3 separate regions of the Homo sapiens genome follow, and regions 1 and 2 are each linked to region 3. Evidence: promoter capture Hi-C in 16 types of primary human blood cells and fetal thymus (Javierre and others, 2016). All regions are on one chromosome and are shown on one strand. The core of a region is centred on a gene start or on the middle of the fragment in contact, and the rest is flanking DNA. Distances in the headings are between cores, read along the strand shown.

Evidence for each region. Contacts are between HindIII fragments. The CHiCAGO score rates a contact against its expected background, and 5 or more counts as called.
Region 1: a fragment that was not itself captured here is called in contact with the fragment with the promoter of SLC25A1 in region 3 in 1 of 17 cell types (megakaryocytes); the score reaches 5.2 in megakaryocytes.
Region 2: a fragment that was not itself captured here is called in contact with the fragment with the promoter of SLC25A1 in region 3 in 1 of 17 cell types (total B cells); the score reaches 5.3 in total B cells.

The regions. Positions count from the first base shown.
Region 1 is chr22:19,411,293-19,413,992 of GRCh38, forward strand. The region is part of intron 1 of HIRA (histone cell cycle regulator); the gene reads right to left. Among named protein-coding and RNA genes, the nearest start is that of HIRA, 19 kb to the right of the region's middle. The HindIII fragment of the contact is 3,879 bases long and covers 1-2,700 here.
Region 2 is chr22:19,361,429-19,364,128 of GRCh38, forward strand. HIRA (histone cell cycle regulator) reads right to left here. Exons shown (of 25, transcript NM_003325.4): 16 at 299-503. Among named protein-coding and RNA genes, the nearest start is that of HIRA, 69 kb to the right of the region's middle. The HindIII fragment of the contact is 4,046 bases long and covers 1-2,700 here.
Region 3 is chr22:19,177,362-19,180,061 of GRCh38, forward strand. It overlaps SLC25A1 (solute carrier family 25 member 1), which reads right to left and starts at 1,375. Exons shown (of 9, transcript NM_005984.5): 1 at 1,219-1,375; 2 at 772-879; 3 at 581-680; 4 at 366-504. The coding sequence starts at 1,312. CLTCL1 (clathrin heavy chain like 1) reads right to left here. Exons shown (of 33, transcript NM_007098.4): 33 at 2,112-2,608. RefSeq lists silencers at 592-1,671, 1,872-1,971 and an enhancer at 673-1,420. The HindIII fragment of the contact is 6,402 bases long and covers 1-2,700 here.

The DNA.
Region 1 (2,700 bases), core at 82-2,581, 230 kb after region 3:
TCCTTCACAGTTTGTACTCTATGTTAAATTAGCTGTTCAATTCCTCCAGGAGAAAGGACTGTGGCTATTAGTTCTTAGAAGCCCCAAAGAGCCCAGTATGGGCCTAGGCTTGCACTAGGATCCCATGAAGCTAGCTGGCTGGCTGGGTGGGTGGATCAGACCGGCAAAAGCACTGTAGGAGCTTGAAACCCAGCAGACCATAGAAGGCACTCACGCCTGGTGGGCATTTGTCCAGCTCCCTGCTTCTAGGACAAAGGTTTAAGAGCTACAAGTGGCATGTCAGTTGCTGTTGAGTTCATCACATCTTCAGCCTCTAGCACAGTACCCAGTGTACAGTAGCGCAGTAATATTTGTTCATTGACAAAGGAGATACATGACAATGATCTGAGCATCAACAATTGCTGATATAGATGGGCTGTTGCCAAGAGTCTCTTAATTGAACATGTTCTGTCTCTGTCACCCAAGAGGAGGCAATGTGGACACAGTACCAGAGTCACCAGCCCTAGAATCACTCAGCAAGTACTGGGATCAGGAGTGTGTGGGCAGGCAGTGGCTGTCTGAGAACTGTGAAGTCCTGCCAGGGCTCCCATGCAAGTGTGAAAATTAAATGCTGGTGCCCAAAAGGCACTGCCCAGCATGGGACCCAGGCAGCACCCAGCTGTGGAGAGCCGCAGCCATGTAGTCAAATCAAGCATGAACTTGAGATAAAATACACTTTCCTTCTTACTGGTCACTATGTAGTATAGGTTGAGTATCCCTTATCTGAAACACCTGGGACCCGTTTTAACCAAAGGGAAATGACAGAAGTAATGTTGCTCCAGTTCCAGGTGTAGGCCTTAAGAGTCTAGCAGTTCAACTTTGGCTCTCTGGAGAAACCTAGTTGTCATGTGAGAAGTCCAAGTACCCTGAGACCACCATGTTTTGAAGAGGCCCAAGCTGGCCACATGTAGAGCATCAAAGAGCCCGGACAAGTGAGAATCAAGGTCACAGACACAGGCCTGGTGAGGTGTTCTATCCCCAAGCTATTCGAGCCATCCCAGCAGATTCCATAGAGCCAAGATGAGCTGAACCTGCTAAGTCCTGACAAGCTGCAGAATTATGAGCAAATAATAAAACTGTTATTGGTTTAAGCCAGCAAATTTAGGGGTTTGTCATATAAGAGATAAACCAAAATGCCAATTCATTTGCTTTTCTGCTTAAGCCAGCTTGAGCTGGGCATTTGTCATTTTAACAAAAAATGTTCTAGCTGACAGCTTTGGTCTTGACGGGCAATCAGGGCGGAACATTCCCCTCCCCTTGGAGTGCTTTTCAGTTCCATAAGTCTGTGAGACATTGTATTACATCAGTCCCCTCAAGAAGCACACCAGAAACCCTTACCTGCAAGTCACAGTTCCCCTGACTACCCAAGAGCACGTACAGGCTGAGCCAGGCTGTGCTGAGGGCTCAGCTGCACAAGTAACCAATTACAGCCCATGCGCTTTAGATCATGCCCACTCACAGCATCAACTGCATGTTTTCTCACTCAGTCTCTGTTTGCAGATTTCTACTATGTGCCAGGCATTAGGCTAAGCAATGAGAAAGTAAAGATACATAATCATACAAACTCCCCTAGTAAGATGTCCACTGATGGACACTTCACAAGCAGAAAGCCACCTGACTCAGCCTCGGGCTTCCTGCAGAAATAATAACTGAATTGGGTCCCAAGGGTTGAGTAAGAGTTAGCCAGAAGATCGGGTGAAGGAGAGGGTTTTCAGGCTGAGGGGACGCACGGCATGGAATCAAGAAATAGGCTGATGTAATGTTGCAGAGCAGACTGCAGGTAGAGAGTGTGAGAAAGAAGAGGAGACAGAGATGGCTCAGCAAGCATCAGTAAGGAGCTGAGACATTTCTCTAAAGGTACTTTCAAGGCAGGGTAATGCCAAGGTCAGATTCACATTCTGGCTCCACAATAGCAGTGTGGAAAATGGGGGTGGGGGCCTCAAGGCTCCAGGGGAAGGCAGGGATGGAGGCTGGCAACAAGTTTGGGTTTTGGCATTAAACATCATGGGCTGAATCTTTAGCCCTGCCACTTACCCAGCTACAAAGCCTTGAGATTTTATTTTATTTTATTTTTATTATTTTGAGAAGGCGTGCCTGGTTCATTGGCACCAGGTTTCCTTTCCTAGTGCTATGCAGATTAGATGAAATATGGTAGGGGACCTACACAGATACCAGCGCAGTGCTGGCTCCCCGCCTCCTTACAGCACTAGGCCTTTCCATCCCAAGGAAAGCAGTCACTCACATTCCATTAGTGGGAATGAAACTATTTATTTATTTATTTATTTATTTATTTATTTATAGACAGAGTTTCGCTCTGTCGCCCAGGCTAGAGTGCAGTGGCGTGATCTCCACTCACTGCAAGCTCCGTCTCCCAGGTTCACGCCATTCTCCTGCCTCAGCCTCCTGAATAGCTGGGACTACAGGTGCCTGCTACCACGCCCAGCTAATTTTGGTATTTTTAGTAGAAACAGGGTTTCACCATGTTAGCCAGGATGGTCTCGATCTCCTGACCTCATGATCCGACCACCTCAGCCTCCCAAAGTGCTGGGATTACAGGGGTAATCCCGGCCACCGTGCCCGGCCAGGAATGAACCTCTTCTAAAGGGCTCTCTGAGGTGGAGCTAAGGAAAGGGACCTTCTGGCTGAGCTAGTTAGACAACT
Region 2 (2,700 bases), core at 119-2,618, 180 kb after region 3:
GCCTGCGACCAGAGCATTTCCACCCTGGGAGGGAGGAAGCAGAGGGGAATGCTACAAGGATCCTAACCTCATGGACAAGCCAGTTGATGCCAGGGAACCTGCTCAAGGGCCCTGGGTGAGTCAAGGGCACATCTGAGGGAGAGCGTGGCCTCCATGCTACATTCCAGGGGCTGCATGTCTAAGCCAGCTGGTTCCCAAGGTGACCCACCCAGCTGAGGCTTACCATGCACACAGGGCCTTCAAGCTCTAAGTACAGAAAGGTGGGCTAAAGAAGGCAGGATGGGCCCACTGGCCTCACCTGGACAGACAGAGACACAGGCATGAGACGAGAGTCCTTCCGAGGCCGCCCTTTCTTCTTCTTCTCTACTGTCTCTACCTCAAGCTCAAGTTTTCGCTTGGACAGTGAGGAAGCCTTAGCCAAAGGGACTTTCTCATCGCTGTCACTGCTGCTCTCCAGGAGGTCTCGGGGCCTCAGCTCTTTCACAAGGTTCTGCTCTTTTAACCTGCACAAAAACATTACATCACACTTCCCTTCAGAAACCATTCATGCAAGAAAGAGTGAAGTGAAATATTTAAAGTGCTTAAACAAACCTCTTGCCAACCTAGAATTCTGTGTCCAGTGAAATTATGCCTCAAAAGTAAAGGAGAAATAATGACTTTGTCAGACAAAAATAAACAAAGAGACACCGGAATCTGTTGCCAGAAGACCTGCCTTGCAAGAAATGTTAAAAGTCTTTCAGAGAGAAGATAAATGATGCAGGCCAGAAACTCACATCTGCATGAAGAAAGGAAGAGTGATGTTAGAGAAAAAAAACAATGAACATAAAATAGAATCTTTTGTATTTCATATTCCCAACTGATCTGAGAGACAACTTTCTGTTCAAACAAATAACAGCCACCATGTCTTGAATTACTATAGTTTATGAATGAGTGAAATAAGTGGTACCAATGTCATAGGGCATGGAAGGAAAGAGTGGGGAACTCTTTCTACTACCCATGAAGTGGTATAATATTATTTGAAAGTAGAGTTAGGTTATAAATGTTTATTGTAAACTCTAGAGCAATCACTAAAAAAAATTTTTTAAAGCATAATTAATAATGCTGAGAGGAGAGAAAATTTATTTTTATTTTATTATCATTTTTTTTTTGGAGATGGATTTTCACTCTTCTCGCCCAGCCTGGAATGCAATGGTGTGATCTTGGCTCACTGCAACATCCACCTACTGGGGTCAAGTGATTCTCCTGCCTCAGTCTCCCAAGTAGCTGGGATTACAGGTGTGTGCCACCACGCCTGGTTAATTTTTGTATTATTAGTAGAGACAGGGTTTCATCATGTTGGCCAGGCCAGTCTTGAACTCCTGACCTCAGGTGACCTACCCGCCTCAGCCTCCCAAAGTGTTGGGATTATGGTCGTGAGCCACCATGCCTGGCTGAGAAAACTGAATCATATAAAATACTCAGCTAAAACCAGAGAAGGCAGAAAAAGAAGATAAAAAGAAGTGAAGATTAAAAAAAAAGAATAAGGCCGGGCACGGTGGCTCACGCCTGTAATCCCAGCACTTTGGGAGGCTGAGGTGGGTGAATCACCTGAGGTCAGGAGATTGAGACCGTCCTGGCCAACACGGTGAAACCCTGTCTCTACTAAAATACAAAAAATTAGCCGGGTGTGGTGGCGTGTGCCTGTAGTCCCAGCTACTCGGCAGGCTGAGGCAGGGCAATTGCTTGAACCCAGGAGGCAGAGGTTGCAGGGAGTCAAGATCGTGCCACTGCACTCCAGCCTGGTGACAAAGTGAGATTCCGTCTCAAAAAAAAAAACAAAAAAAACAAAAAAAAGAAATGGGTTTATGTTTTTAAAAATTTAATTTTAACTACAAAAGACAAAGACAGATTAATAGTAGGTGGACACAGTGGCTCATGCCTGTAGTCCCAGCTACTTGGTAGGCTGAGGCAGGAGGACTGCTCGAGCCCAGAGGCTTGAGAGCAGCCTGGGCAAAATAATGAGACCCCATCTCTAAGAACAAAAAATAAGTAAATAAATAAATACAAGAAAAGGGGTGATTCTAACTATATGACAACCTGGAACAGGCAAAACCATGGAGACAATAAAAAGATCAGTGGTTTCCAGGGGTTGGGGAAAGGAAGGTAACTATATGAAGCACAGAATTTTTAAGGCATTGAAACTATTCTGGCTGGGTGTGGTGGCTCTTTCCTGTAATTCCTACACTTTGGGAGGCCAAGGTGGGCAGATCACTTGAGGTCAGGAGTTTGAGACTGGCCTGGCCAACATGGTGAGACCCCATCTCTACTAAAAATACAAAAATTAGCCACGTGTGGTGGCATACACATGTAATCCCAGCTACCTGGGAGGCTGAGGTAGGAGAATTGCTTGAACCTGGGAGGCGGAGGTTGCAGTGAGCCGAGATGCGACTGTGCCACCGCACTCCAGCCTGGGCAATAGAGCGAGACTCTGTCTCGAAAAAACCCAAAAAACTATTCTGTAAGATATATAATGATGAATATATGTCATTATACATTGGTTAAACCCGTAAAACGTACAACATCAAGAGTAGACCCAAATGTAAACTTTGGGTGACGGTGTGCCCCACTCTGGTGGGGGATGCTGAAAGTGGGGGATGCTATGGGTATGTTGGGGAGGCGGGCATGTGGGAACTCTTTGTATTTCCTGTTCAATTTAGCTGT
Region 3 (2,700 bases), core at 125-2,624:
GCCCCGGGACACAGGGCAGCCCACACGGACCATGCTCTGGGACACAGGGCAGCCCTGTGAGCAGCCTCTCCCTTTATGTTTGCTGCTCTTTTCCAGTTTTGGCAGTGAAGGTGTCATTTTGTTTTCTGCTTTATAAAAGTATTTTTTAAAGACTTTAAGGCTGCCTTTAGCATAGACTCAGCCTCCACGGGTGGCCCTTCGTGGCAGGCGTCCTGCCCCAGGGCCCCGCGGTCACCCCGCCGGCCTTCCCTGGCGTCCAGGAGACCCTCCCCAGCTTGCCGGTTGCCCCGGGAGCACCGGGCCAGCGGGGCCGCCCGTCTCCGTACTCCCTGCGTGTCCGGGGTCCTCGCCAGGACCTTCCCCACCTTGATGGTCTCCATGGGGCACACGACCACCACGGCCTCGGCCACGCCAGCGCCCAGGCCGCACAGCAGCCCACGCGTGCTGTCCAGCCGTCCCTGGGCATCCCGCATGTGGTTGCTGAGGAACTCGAACATTCCAAACCTGGAGGCGGGAGGCGGGTGAGAGGGGCTGCCGCGGCCGAGCCCCCCTCCCGCAGCAGCCACCGGCCGGGCCTCACCTGACGGCCGCCTTGGGGATGGAACCGTAGAGCAGGGAGCTAAGGCCGCGGTACAGGCCCAGGACGCCATGGCTGCGAACCGTCTGCCGCACGCAGTCCCCTGGGGGAGGGGGCGGTCAGGACCCCACGGCCCTCGGTGCCGCCGCCCTGGGTACCCGCCCCCCGCGGCGCCGCGGCCTCCCCCTCCTCACCGATGCCCCGGTACCGCGGCGGGTGCGAGCGCTCGTCCAGCTGCAGCTGCGTCTTCACGTACTCGGTGGGGAAGGTGATGCAGATCTCGATGCCACCCGCCAGGCCGCCTGCAGGGACCGGGAACCCGCTCCTGAGACTCCCGCCCGGCCGCTGGCGCTCGGGCCCCTCCCCCGTCCCGGACTTCGGTCGGCGCGGCCGCCGCGCCAGTGCCGCGGGGAACATAGGCTGGGGCCCCACGCCCCCATGCCCTCACCCCGTTGTCCCGGCGAGGCGCAGGGGGTGACAGACGGGAGGCGGGCGAGTCCCAGCGCGCCGGGTGGGGACCAGGACCGCGCCTCCACGACTCCCCAGCCCACGGCCCAACCCGGAAGTGGGGCGGGGCCTCAGCGTCCCGGGCCCACCCAGAAGCGCGGCGGGAGAGGGGTCCGCGTCCCGGAGGGGCCCACCTGCCAGGATCGCCTTCCCCGGGTGCGTCAGCTTGGCCTTCCCGGACGCGGGCGCGGCGGCCGCCAGAGCGCGCGGGGCGCGGGGCGCGGGCATGGCGGGCGGGAGGCGGGGCGCCCTGTGGCGGCTTCGGGTCCGAGACTCCAGAACTCCGCGCTCGGTCCGCGGTGGCGGCGGCGGCCGGTTATGGTCCCAGGGGCGGGGCGGCCGCGTCAGCTCCAGGTCCCGCCCCGCGTGGTCCGAGCCAGGCCCCGCCCCCAGCCCGCCCCGTGCGGGCCGGGAAACTGAGGCCTGGGCGGGGCGCGCCGAGGCAGGCGTAGGGGCGGGGCCAAAGCGCAGCCAATGGCCGAGGCCGAGTCCCTGGGCGACCGCGAGCGGCGGGACGGGGGCGGGGCTGCGGGAGGCGGAGCCGTGGCCCAGCTCCGAGCAGTGGGTCAAGGTGCACTGTGTGCCGCGCCGCGGGATAGCGGGCCTCGGGTCTGCGCGACTGTCGAGAGCGGCGGGATCCCCAGGGATCCCGGAGGCCAGGGGCACACCCTCCCCGAAAACACGTGGGGCTAGCCCAGTCCCAGAGGAACTCTAACGTTTCAAACCTGGAGGCGGGAGGCGGGAGGCCGGTGAGAAGGGGCTACGCCGCCGGGCCCCCCTCCCGCAGCAGCCACGGGCCGGGCCTCACCTGCCGGTTCCCACCCACACCTTTCCCGGTTGTAGTTTCTGCGCTCAGCGAACAAGGTCAGGAAAGACCACAAATGCAAGCGGCTGTATTCTCCTAGGCAGCTTGTCTGGGCAACGGAGGTCCCACACCCCAAAGAGGACCCAGCAAATCTTTAATGGACTGCGGGGCCTAGGAAACTGGCCCGTCCCTCCTACCCATACCAGCACCAAGCAGAGCACCTTTGCCTGGATAAACCGACTTTAATATTTATGATTGCCAAGAGGCTGAGAGTCCTTTTATGAGGTCCGGTACCTCCAAACAAGACGTGTTCATGTAGTCTTCAAACTGGCCTGGAGGGGGCAGCTCCAGCCAGTCGGAGGCGCCCAGGAGGAAGGCCTGGCTCCAGCAGGAGGGCCCACAGTCCAGTCTCTGTTGTCGGCTAAAGCTGGTCTTGCGCCGTCAGCCTCTACCCTGGCCTCCCCAGGCTCTGGGATGGCTCAGAGGTTGCCGTCATTGGGTTTCAGCAAAAATAAATATTGTCCAGGTGTCCCTGCCTCCCATTGCGTCCCCTGTGCTGCTGGAGTGACATGCTCCTTGGAGAAGTTAGTAACTCTGCAGGTAGGGTGGGTGGTGACAACGCCCACTACACGCGGAAGTTGTACATTGGAGGCTGGCGAAGTTGGGAGCAGAGGCATATCCATAGGGGAAGCTGGCAGGGGCTGGGCCCACGGCAGGGCCTGCAGAGGGGGAAGCCCACAATGAGCAGAGCTCTTCCTGCCCATGGGGGTCCTCTCCTGGCTGCCCCTGAGTAGCCCGGGGCCCAGGGAGC